Regions from separate parts of the Homo sapiens genome. Here all the other regions are linked to region 1. Evidence: promoter capture Hi-C in human tissues and cell types (Jung and others, 2019). All regions are on one chromosome and are shown on one strand. Each heading gives the region's core, a stretch centred on a gene start or on the middle of the fragment in contact. The rest is flanking DNA. Distances are from core to core; before and after follow the strand shown. Region 1 holds the start of SP2 (Sp2 transcription factor). Region 2 holds the start of NFE2L1 (NFE2 like bZIP transcription factor 1). Region 3 overlaps CBX1 (chromobox 1).

Region 1 (3,162 bases), core at 487-2,986:
CTTTCCTGGAGGGAAAAGGGTAGGATTTGTAGGAAGGGAACGGGGGTAGAGGGAGGAGATAAAGCATGAAAGATACACCAGTAAGAGTGTGTCCTCTGGTGGATGCTGAGGTTAAGAAGAAAAAAGAGTGGGAGGACTTTGCCTAGAAAGGAGTTTGGGCTTTATCTAGGAGATACGGATCCCATGAAGGATCTTTACTAGAGGAGTATTATTGTCTAAAGTCTTGTTTTTCAAAGGCTAACACTGAGAGGAGAAGACTGGAAGAGGCTATTAACATTTATTCAGCAATTACTGTGTACCCGGTATTCTGCTCTGCATTTTGTATTATCACACCAACCTTTTCTAGCAGTGTTTTTCAAACTGCCAGTCATGATCAACAAGAAGGAGAATAAGATAGGATAGGATAAGCATAGAAACTATCAGTGCGTCACAAGTAGTAAGCATTGTTTTCGGAAACTTTATGACACTCTCATACAAATAGCAGTGTACTGGTCTGTATGCAAAATGTATTTCTCTTGATGGACTATGTTTTTTTTTGTTTGTTTTTTTTTTTTTTTTTTTTAAGCCATCGCGCTAAGGTGTAGGTGTGATTAACCTCGTTTTACTGATGAGGACATGAAGCTCAGGGAGTTTCGGTACCCTGCCTAAGTTAGTGGGATGTGTAGGTTTCAAACCCAGACTGGTCTGAAGCCAGAATGGATTCCCTCACTAAGCTAGGCAGCCTTCCCAAGTTCTCGGAAGAGACTTGGGAGCAAAGATAAACCTACCCGCCTAGTGCCTACCAAGTGCTTTACCTCATCTCAAGAAGGTAAGGGTAAGTGGGGCAGAGGCCAAGCAGTACTTCTCAAACTCAAGCGTGCAATTCTGTCCACGCGAGGCCCTTGCTAAAATGCAGATTCTAGGCACGCCCCGTGAAGTACCGAGTCGGATTAGGAGAGGCGGCCAGGGGAGCCTGCCTTTAGAAAGAGCTTCGGATGATTCAGATGCACACGTTTGGGACCGTGGGCTATGGGGGTCGCCGCAATAACCATGTGAGGATTAACGGGGGCTTAACCGATTGTGAAAATCCCCTTAGAAGTGTCGCGTAAACAACCCCAACTCCCACTATGGTGCCGGACCCCAGTGCCTCACTGTACAAAGTCGCCCCTCCCCAGGCGACAACGAGAGAGGGACTAAATAAAAGGTTGATGGCTTTCCACTCACCAGGCATGGGGTTGAGTGGCAGCCGGCTACTGCCGAAGAGCAGGTAAAAGCTCCTGCCACACCTGGGCGAGACTGGACTTAGGGCGCAATGTATATGCTATTTCTGGGGCATTTGTGGGCCTCACCCTAAGGACTTCTGATTGGCTTCAGGGCAGATCTATCATTCATCCTCTGGGTTAGAGGTGGGTGGAAGGTCAACCTCGACCAATACAAAAGCACTCTTCGGCTAAGCCCCTCCCCTTCCAGCTTCCTGTTGCTGTACATCAACCACCCAGCGGGCGGGACTTTGCCTCCCTCCAATTGGCTGATGCACATGTCACTCATTATTCAATTGGCTTTCGGTTGGTGCGCTCTACCGTCCATCAGTGACATTGCACAGACCTATTGGTCAAATCAACGTCGCTCTAGACGCCTCTGGTTGATTGGTTAATAGTGCTGTCGGTCCCCAATGTTCCAAGCGCTTATTGGTGAAGGCTGCCGTCGCTCGGGCGGTGGCGGGCTCCGGGATTGGCGGTTGCTTGGCGGGCGGTGTCAGGCTCTCGGTGGCGGCGGAGGCGGCGGAGGCCAGGGAGGAAGATGTCGTAATGAGCGGTGGGTCCCGGCCGCTGCCGGCGGGGTCTTCCCGGCCCCCAAGGGTCAGGAAGACGGGCAGAGGCCGCGGGGAGAGGGAGCCGAGGCCGGGGGTTCCCCCCTGGGGCTGGGTCTGGCGTCGGGGCCCGGCTTCAGGAGGGGCGGGGGAGGGAGGATTCCCGCCCGGAGGAGGAGCGGGGCTGGCCAGCCGGGCGGAGGCACCCGGAAGGGGGCGTTCGACTCCCCGCCCCCTCGGAGCCCGCCGGGCGGGAGGGCGGCGCTTCCGGGGGCCGGCGAGAGGAGCGGGCACCGGGGTGGCCTGGCACCCCTCGGACGGGTGCCGACCCACTTCAACGCCGCTCTCCCGCCTGGGCGAACTATGCCTGGGTCGGCTCTGAGGAGGCAGCCAACAGCCCTTGTGTTCGCCCCGTGTCTGAGAGGCCTTCCTGCACTCTTAACTGTAGATGCCCACCAGCGATTCAGGGCTCCCCGGAGAACAGAGAGGGGCGAGGGAACGCTTGAGACCCGGACGCTGCCAACCAGATGGGCACTGCTCGGCATCGACGACAGCCCGGTTACTGATATATCCCCAGTCGGGCGATGGTGTCAGGACACGAGAGCACTCCCTGGGCAGATGACCTCTCACCGGGGAGTGGGCAAAAACCTTCCTTTAATGTTTTTACTTGGATCCTTGATCTTCCAGCTAGATATCTGCAAGCTCTTAGCAGAATTGTGAGAAGTTTGAGAACTTCTTGCCAGAGCTCCCAGCCTGTTACTTGACGCCCCGTAGGGGAGACTACTGCAGTCCCAAAGCTCAGGCGCAAACAATCTTAAGGAATTACAGAAGAAATAAAACAAAATAGATACTCGCTCTCTTCCTGTACCCACCTCCATCCCCATTGCTGACTTACGGTTTTCAGCCTCTTATCCATGCTTCTTATGTTTCCTTGCCAGCGGCTTTCTAATTTTAGTTCAGAAGGAACTATGTTTTCTCCTCTGGGCAACTGAGAAACCTGTCCTCACTGCATTCCTTGGTTTTGATTGCAATATCCTGTCATGTTTGTTTCTTAATTAACTTCATCCAAGGGGACTCAGTCTGGCCTTTCTCAGTGCATTCTCCCAAAGTTCTTTCTTCTTCTGAGGTTACTTCTTGTTCACTTATTGTTTCCTAGAGAAAGGTATGAGCCAGTAGATCTGCTTTAAACAATGAATTGGCCCAAGTTTCCCGTTTACAGATTTCATTACAGATGGACACTGTTTCAAGGTGCACTGGCATGCACTGTCTAAAACGGTTTCATGCTGTACCCCAGAAGGCATTCAGTTTCACAGTGGAGGGCTGTATTGAGTTGGTATTCTGGATGATACAATTTTTAGGGCTAGAAAGTTTAG
Region 2 (3,399 bases), core at 7-2,506, 150 kb after region 1:
AACCACCCCAAATTAAGCCCCTAACTCGCAAGCACAAAATGGACTCGATTATTTACTGAGTTATCAGTTGGCCTTGTCCTTAGTTGTACAGGGACTAATGACTCACCTATAAATAATGGGCTCTTCTAAGAAGACACAGTTGAGTTGACACCTCTTTGTCCTATAGCTGGGAGGAACGCATTGCAAACGCCAACCCAATGATTCCCTAAATGGGGTCTTCGCATCAGCTGCGTTAAAATCACCCCAGCAGGCAGGTTATCCGGCCGCCACTCCAGGGTCATTAAATCAGACTCTCCAGTGGGACCTCGGAATTCGTAGCTTAGCAAGCTCCCCAAGTGATGCTGGGAGTAAACTAACGTTTGAGAGTCACAAACATGTTTTGGCAATATAACCAGATGGGACTGGAGAAATTAAAAAATGAGAAACATCCCTAAAAAAGCAAGACTAAGCTGCGTGGGAGGCCAAACGAGGGGGGTCCTTTGGGCTGTTTCTACCATGACAAAAATCGCCATTACCCCACACCTCTCACACCGCCAACGTTCCGCCAACGTTCCGCCAACGTCCCACCACCCTCATGATATCCGTCCGCGGTACTGCTCCAGCGAAGGTACCCTTGCCTGGGCCATGAGGCGCAACCGTCCCTCACAGCTGGGGTGGCTTCTCCAGGTTCGCACCGAGGGGAAGTTGGGGTACCGGTTTCCGCCGCCAGCACCCAAGATGGCGGCACGAGCGTCGCAACCACAAGAACCACATGCTTCGTGTCCCGCCTCAGCATTCTCGGGTCTCACTAGACTTTTGCAAGTCACTGTGGGAACCCTCAAGGCGAGGGTGTTCCGCACTCTGGCGGCGATACACCTTCCTATTCCCTGACCTAGGCCTTCATTCCCCCGCCACAGAAAGCGCTGGAAGCGCCCAACCTGGATACTTCACCCAACGCCCAAGCCCACTAACATCGCCCGCCGCGAAGGCGCGGCCGAGGGGCCCAGAATGCCAGACACTAGGGCCTTCGCCCTCCTCATTGGTGGGTCCATACCGCGGGGCGGGCCTAGGTACTCATTGGGCCGGGAATTATGTCAGTCTTGGGAAATCAGGTCCGGGGATGAGGAGGTACACTCAGCCATTGGGCCCTCTCTGCTGCCAATCAGAGGGACATCCGTCGACGGCCCCGGCCTCGGCTCGTTGATTGGAGAAACTGTTCCTAGGGTGTTTGCGGCGGGCGGGTTTCCGAGTGCGGTAGCAGGAGGGGGCGGGGAGGTAAGCGGAGGCTCCGAGCTCTAGGCCGGCCGGCGGTGGCGGCGGCGAGGCCGGGACTCGGGCTTAGGGCCTGCTGTGGAGGCAGCGGCGGACGCCGAGCTAAGCAGTGGGTATCGGGCACATTCCTTTCCCAGAAGGGAGGGTTGCAGCGCCGCGGGGCCGAGGCTTATGGGGCGACGGGATGGTGCTGAGGTGCAGGAGGCGGGGGCCGAGCGGGGTTCCCGCCAGAGCCCGGCCCTGGGCCTGACAGGGAGGGGCCCCGCGCGGGGCCGAGAGGAAAGCTGGCTCCGGGGTGGGATGGACTGGGCAGGGTTGAGGGCACGAGAAGGCGTGGTGTGAGGCCTGGACTTGGGAGTGGGGTGGGGCCATCGGGACGGAGGGCGGGGTGGGGTTTGCTGTAAGGGTGGGTCAAGGCCAGGGAAGTAGCACTTGTTCGCTGGCCGCCCCTGGAGGCTAGAAGCTCCGGCGCCGAGAGTGGGCATGGCGACTTGGTCTCAGCCGGACTCGGGTATCCGGGCAGGGTGGGACCAGCCTCAGGCTATGGGCCCTGCACCTACTTGATTTTTAAGGGACTTTGTCCGGTTCCTCGAACTTAATTGGCTCCTGGGAGGTTTTAGTAATAAATTGCGTGAGAACGGGAGGGTAGCGTAAGCAGGAATTCTGGGTCGCAATTGTGTTTACTCTGACCAGAGAGAGGGAGTGTGAGTGTGTGTGTGTGCGCACGTTCGTGTGTGTACGTATAGCTCGCTCTCCCCCTGTAGAATGAAGTTGGTAGATGGGTCACAACGCAGGAGAGGAGAGGCGGTATGTCTTGGTTTGTGACATTAATGGAAGCTCAAAAGTGGAGACCAGAAACAGATTTACTTCCTCTGCACTGGGCAGTCTGGCTAGAGAACGTGGCCATATCCTTCTGCTTTGGCTCAGAAGGTCATATGAATGAAAATAAAACCTGCCTATGCAAATTCTGGACGGAATAGTCCTGCGTAGTAGGGCCCCCACCATCCCTCTCCTTTTTTTCTTTCCTTTTCTTTTCTTTCTTTTTTTTCTTTTTTTGAGACGGAGTTTTGCTCTTGTTGCCCAGGCTGGAGTGCAGTGGCGCGATATCGGCCCACCACAACCTCCGTTTCCTGGGTTCAAGCGATTCTCCTGTCTCAGCCTCCCGAGTAGCTGGGATTACAGGCATGCGCCACCACGCCCGGCTAATTTTTGTATTTTTAGTTGAGATGGGGTTTCTCCATGTTGTTCAGGCTGGTCTCAAACTCCCGACCTCGGGTGATCCGCCCTCCTCGGCCTCCCGAAGTGCTGGGATTACAGGCGTCGGCCCTTTTCCTTTTTTTTCTTTTGTAAGTTGTGAGGATAGGAAAGGGAAATCAGATTTCAAAGTTCAGAAAACAAAAGGCATTCTTCTTCTGGGTGAAGTGGTGGCCTGAACATTGTCCTTTTGTCCTTCCACACTCTCACTGTTTAATAATCTTGCCTTTTTGAACTGAGAAAAGACAACTGTTATGGGTGGTTTTCTCCCGAGGGGTGAAAATCCAGCTTTACTTTTAAGACAGGAAATGGGCTTCTCATGTGAAAATAGAAGCTGGGTAATGCGCCTGTAGTGGGGGAGGAGGGCTGGTAAATAAAACAAAGGTGTAAGATATTTTGGATGACCTGGTTATTGTCTGCTTATTCAAACCAAGCTACATTTTAGGATATTGCACATTTAATATTCAGTAACTGAGATCATTCGTGATCAGTAGCTTTCTTTGATAGTTCTTCTATGATCGGTTGCTATATTTTGGGTTTTTTTTCTGAGAGTGTAAGTAGTCCTTTCTTCCTGTAAAAGTGGCCTTTAGGCCAGGCACAGTGGCTCACGCCTGTGATCCCAGCACTTTGGGGGGCCGAGGCGGGCAGATCACCTGAGGTCAGGAGCTTGAGACCAGCCTGGCCAACATAGTGAAACCCCATCTCTACTAAAAATACAAAAATTAGCAGGGCGTGGTGGCAGGCGCCTGTAATCCCAGATACTTGGGAGGCTGAGGCAGGAGAATCGCTTGAATGCAGAAGGTGGAGGTTGCAGTGAGCACAGATCACGCCACTGCACTCTAGCCTGGGCGACAGAGTGAGACTCTGTCTCAAAAAAAAAAAAAGTGAAAGTGT
Region 3 (3,377 bases), core at 523-3,022, 180 kb after region 1:
CCTGTCTCAGCCTCCTGAGTAGCTGGGACTACAGGTGTGAGCTACCACGCCCGGCTAATTTTTGTATTTTTAGCAGAGACAGGGTTTCACCAACGTTGGTCAAGCTGCCAGGCTGGTCTCAAACTCGTGACTTCGTGATTCACCCGTGCTGGCCTCCCAAAGTGCTGGGATTACAGGCGTGAGCCACCGAACCCAGCTCCAGCCCCGGCCCCGCACCTCCCCCTCTTTGAGATGGAGTCTCACTCCAGCCGGGCTGGAGTGCAGTGGCACAGTCTTGGCTCACTGCAACCTCCGCCACCTGGGTTCAAGTGATTCTTTTGCCTCAGCCTCCTGAGTAGCTGGGACTACAGGTGTGTGCCACCATGCCCAGCTAGTTTTTGTTTTTTTAGTAGAGACAGGGATTCGCCATGTTGGCCAAGCTGGTCTCGAACTCCTGACCTCAAGTGATCCACCCGCCATGGCCTCCCAAAGTGCTGGGATTACAGGCATGAGCCACTGTGCCCAGCCATGTTCTCTTGTTCTTTATGCAGTCTTTTCTGAATTGAACTTACGATTCACAAATTTCTTGTTAACTTATTGTATTTAGTTTATTTTACAACTTTTTTTCTTTTTTGAGACAGTGTCTCACTCTATCACCTAGGATGGAATGCAGTGAAGTAATTATGGCTCATTGCAGCTTTGACCTCCTGGGCTCAAGTGATCCCGCTGCCTCAGTCTCCTGAGTAGCTGGAACCACAGGTGTGCGCCACCATGCCTGGCTAATTTTTTAAATTTTTAGTAGAGACAAGTTCTCAATATGTTGCCCAGGCTTGTTTCAAACTCCCAGGCTCAAGTGATCCTCCCACCTCAGCCTCCTACTGGGATTACAGACATAAGCCATCACACCTGGCCTCCAATTTATTTCTAAAAACTAAGGAAGAGTCATAAAAATGCCAGAATGATCATGAAATTCTCTAAACTGGAACCCTGTAAAAATTTGGAAAACAAGTGTGGGGAAAACAGAACTGTAGTTATCAAAGATAATAGAATCTGAGTTTACTCCTTTATAAAATACATCATCAAGCTAGGTAACATCTAAGGGTTTTTCCAGTGTTGAAATTTTAGTCCCTTATAAATCTATTTTATTTAGTCCTTCATCCAAATTTGACTTTTTTGGGGGAGGGGGACACAGTCTCCCTCTGTCGCCCAGGCTGCAGTGCAATGGTGCTATCTCGGCTCACCTACGCCTCTAGGGTTCAAGTGATTCTCATGCCTCAGCCTCCTGAGTAGCTAGGACTACAGGCACCTGCCACCAGGCCCAGTTGATTTTTGTATATTTAGTAGAGATGGGGTTTCAGCATGTTGGCCAGGCTGGTCTCGAACTCCTGACCTCAAGTGATCTGCCCGTTTTGGTTTCCCAAAACTCTGGAATTAACAGGCATGAGCTACCGTGCCCGGACCCAACTCTTTGACTTCTGACAGACTTAAAGCCTTATGATTACCAATTTTTGTCAGTAGATGGCACTGTATCAATGAAACAAAATTGATCAACAAAACTGGCCAAAGAATTACCTGGATGGCAGGTAATCCAAGACAAGGAAGAGTTACGTCTCCGCTTGAGTTTAAAATAATACCAATTTGAGGTTAAACTGGTTATTCCTAGCATCCTTAGGAAAGGAAGCTTACTTAGTGTAATCATTAAGTTTTCTAAACACTGTAAAACTGGCATGTATAGACAGAATGCACTTAGAGTCCATCTACAAGGCTGGGTGCGGTGGTTCACGCCTGTAATCCCAGCACTTTGGGAGACTGAGGCAGGCAGATCACAAGGTCAGGAGTTCGAGACCAGCTTGGCCAATATGGCGAAACCCCATCTCTACTAAAAGTATAAAAATTAGCTGGGTATGGTGGCGCTCGCCTGTAGTGCCAGCTACTCGGGAGGCTGAGGCAGGAGAATTGCTTGAACCCGGGAGGCGGAGGTTGCAGTGAGCCGAGATCGCGCCACTGCACTCCAGCCTGGTGACAGAGCGAGACTCCATCTCAAAAAAAAAAAAAAAAAAAAAAAAAAAAAAAAATATATATATATATATATATATATATATATATATATATATATAAAATTTGTCTTAGAAAAATAAATAGCATTTCTTTTTGAAAAGTTTAATCTATTTATTTGCTTATTTAGAGACCAGGTTATGAGACTGCCTAATTTTTGTATTTTCGGTAGAGAAGGGTTTTTGCCATGTTGCCAATGCTGGTCTTGAACCCCTGGGCTCAAGCGATCCACCTGCCTTGACCTCCCAAAGTGCTGGGATTACTGGCATGAGATCTGGCCAAAAAATAAAACAGCACTGACTATTATCCACCTGATCCTTCTGCTATGAGCCGAAAGGGTCAGCATAGCTTCTAACTGATCTCTACCTACTGCAAGCTTATCCTCCCTTTATCATTAATTAGCATGGCCTCAGAGAGGAACAGTCATAGAATGGCATAATTGTTAGGTAAAGAAAGCGCCCAAATGGGGAAATCTAAAGTAAAGCATTCTCATGACTTCGATCTTTACTCACTTTTATTTTTTGAGACAGAGTTTCGCTCTTGTCGCCCAGGCTGGAGTGCAATGGAGCACTCTCAGCTCACTGCAACCTTCACCTCCTGAGTTCAAGCGATTCTCCTGTCTCAGCCTCTCAAAGAGCTAGGATTACAGGCGCTCACCACCATGCCCAGCTAATTTTTTTAATACTCTTAGTAGAGACAAGATTTCACCATGTTGGCCAGGCTGGTCTCGAACTCCTGACCTCAGGTGATCTGCCTGCCTCGGCCTCCCAAAGTGCTGGGATTACAGGCCTAAGCCACTGAGCCTGGCCCTTTCCTTACTTTTTAAGTACTGTCTTAAGAGCAACTCAAATAAGAAGAATATAGAAAACAGATCCCCGCTTCTTCCTGAGCTTTCTTTACTGGCTCATCCCAGAGCATCTACATCCAGAGATACTGTATTACTGGAGATTCCCAGCCAGCCTTCCCAACGTGTTTTTTTGTTTACAATTAGTTCTCTAGGGTTTCAAGAAAGCTATTTGTCAAAATCAGTAGAGAGGTCAGGGCTCGGCAGCACACACCTGTAATTCCAGCACTTTGGAAGGCCTAGGCAGAAGGACTGCTTGAGCCCAGGAGTTTGAGACCAGCCTGGGCAACGTAGTGAGACCCCATCTCTACAAAAAATAATCAGCTGGGTGTGCTGGGAGGATCGCTTAAGCACAGGAGGTTGAGGCTGCTGTGAGCTGTGATTGTGCCACTGCACTCCAGCCTGGGTGAGGAAGCAAGACTGTCTTTAAAAAAATGATAAAGAGGCTGGGCGTGGTGGCTCACACCTGTAATCCCAGCACTTTGGGAGGCTGAGGTGG

Evidence for each region. The method cuts DNA at HindIII sites, captures the fragments that hold promoters and counts their contacts. A contact is called where the count stands out against the background at its distance.
Region 2: a contact is called between the fragment with the promoter of NFE2L1 here and the fragment with the promoter of SP2 in region 1, in 4 of the 25 tissues and cell types used here (hippocampus, liver, neural progenitor cells and 1 more).
Region 3: a contact is called between a fragment that was not itself captured here and the fragment with the promoter of SP2 in region 1, in 2 of the 25 tissues and cell types used here (heart right ventricle and neural progenitor cells).

The regions. Positions count from the first base shown.
Region 1 is chr17:47,894,500-47,897,661 of GRCh38, forward strand. SP2 (Sp2 transcription factor) reads left to right here and starts at 1,737. Exons shown (of 7, transcript NM_003110.6): 1 at 1,737-1,794. The coding sequence starts at 1,788. It overlaps SP2-DT (SP2 divergent transcript), which reads right to left and starts at 1,317. Exons shown (of 3, transcript NR_135480.1): 1 at 1,204-1,317. RefSeq lists silencers at 1-258, 1,807-2,236. The HindIII fragment of the contact is 13,929 bases long and covers 1-3,162 here.
Region 2 is chr17:48,047,103-48,050,501 of GRCh38, forward strand. It overlaps NFE2L1 (NFE2 like bZIP transcription factor 1), which reads left to right and starts at 1,257. Exons shown (of 6, transcript NM_003204.3): 1 at 1,257-1,360. It overlaps NFE2L1-DT (NFE2L1 divergent transcript), which reads right to left and starts at 951. Exons shown (of 2, transcript NR_170231.1): 1 at 523-951. It also overlaps a transcript of COPZ2 not described here. RefSeq lists enhancers at 29-632, 477-666, 633-1,234, 737-976, 1,235-1,836 and a silencer at 1,387-1,666. The HindIII fragment of the contact is 14,336 bases long and covers 1-3,399 here.
Region 3 is chr17:48,078,899-48,082,275 of GRCh38, forward strand. All of the region lies in intron 1 of CBX1 (chromobox 1), which reads right to left. Among named protein-coding and RNA genes, the nearest start is that of CBX1, 21 kb to the right of the region's middle. The HindIII fragment of the contact is 4,479 bases long and covers 1-3,377 here.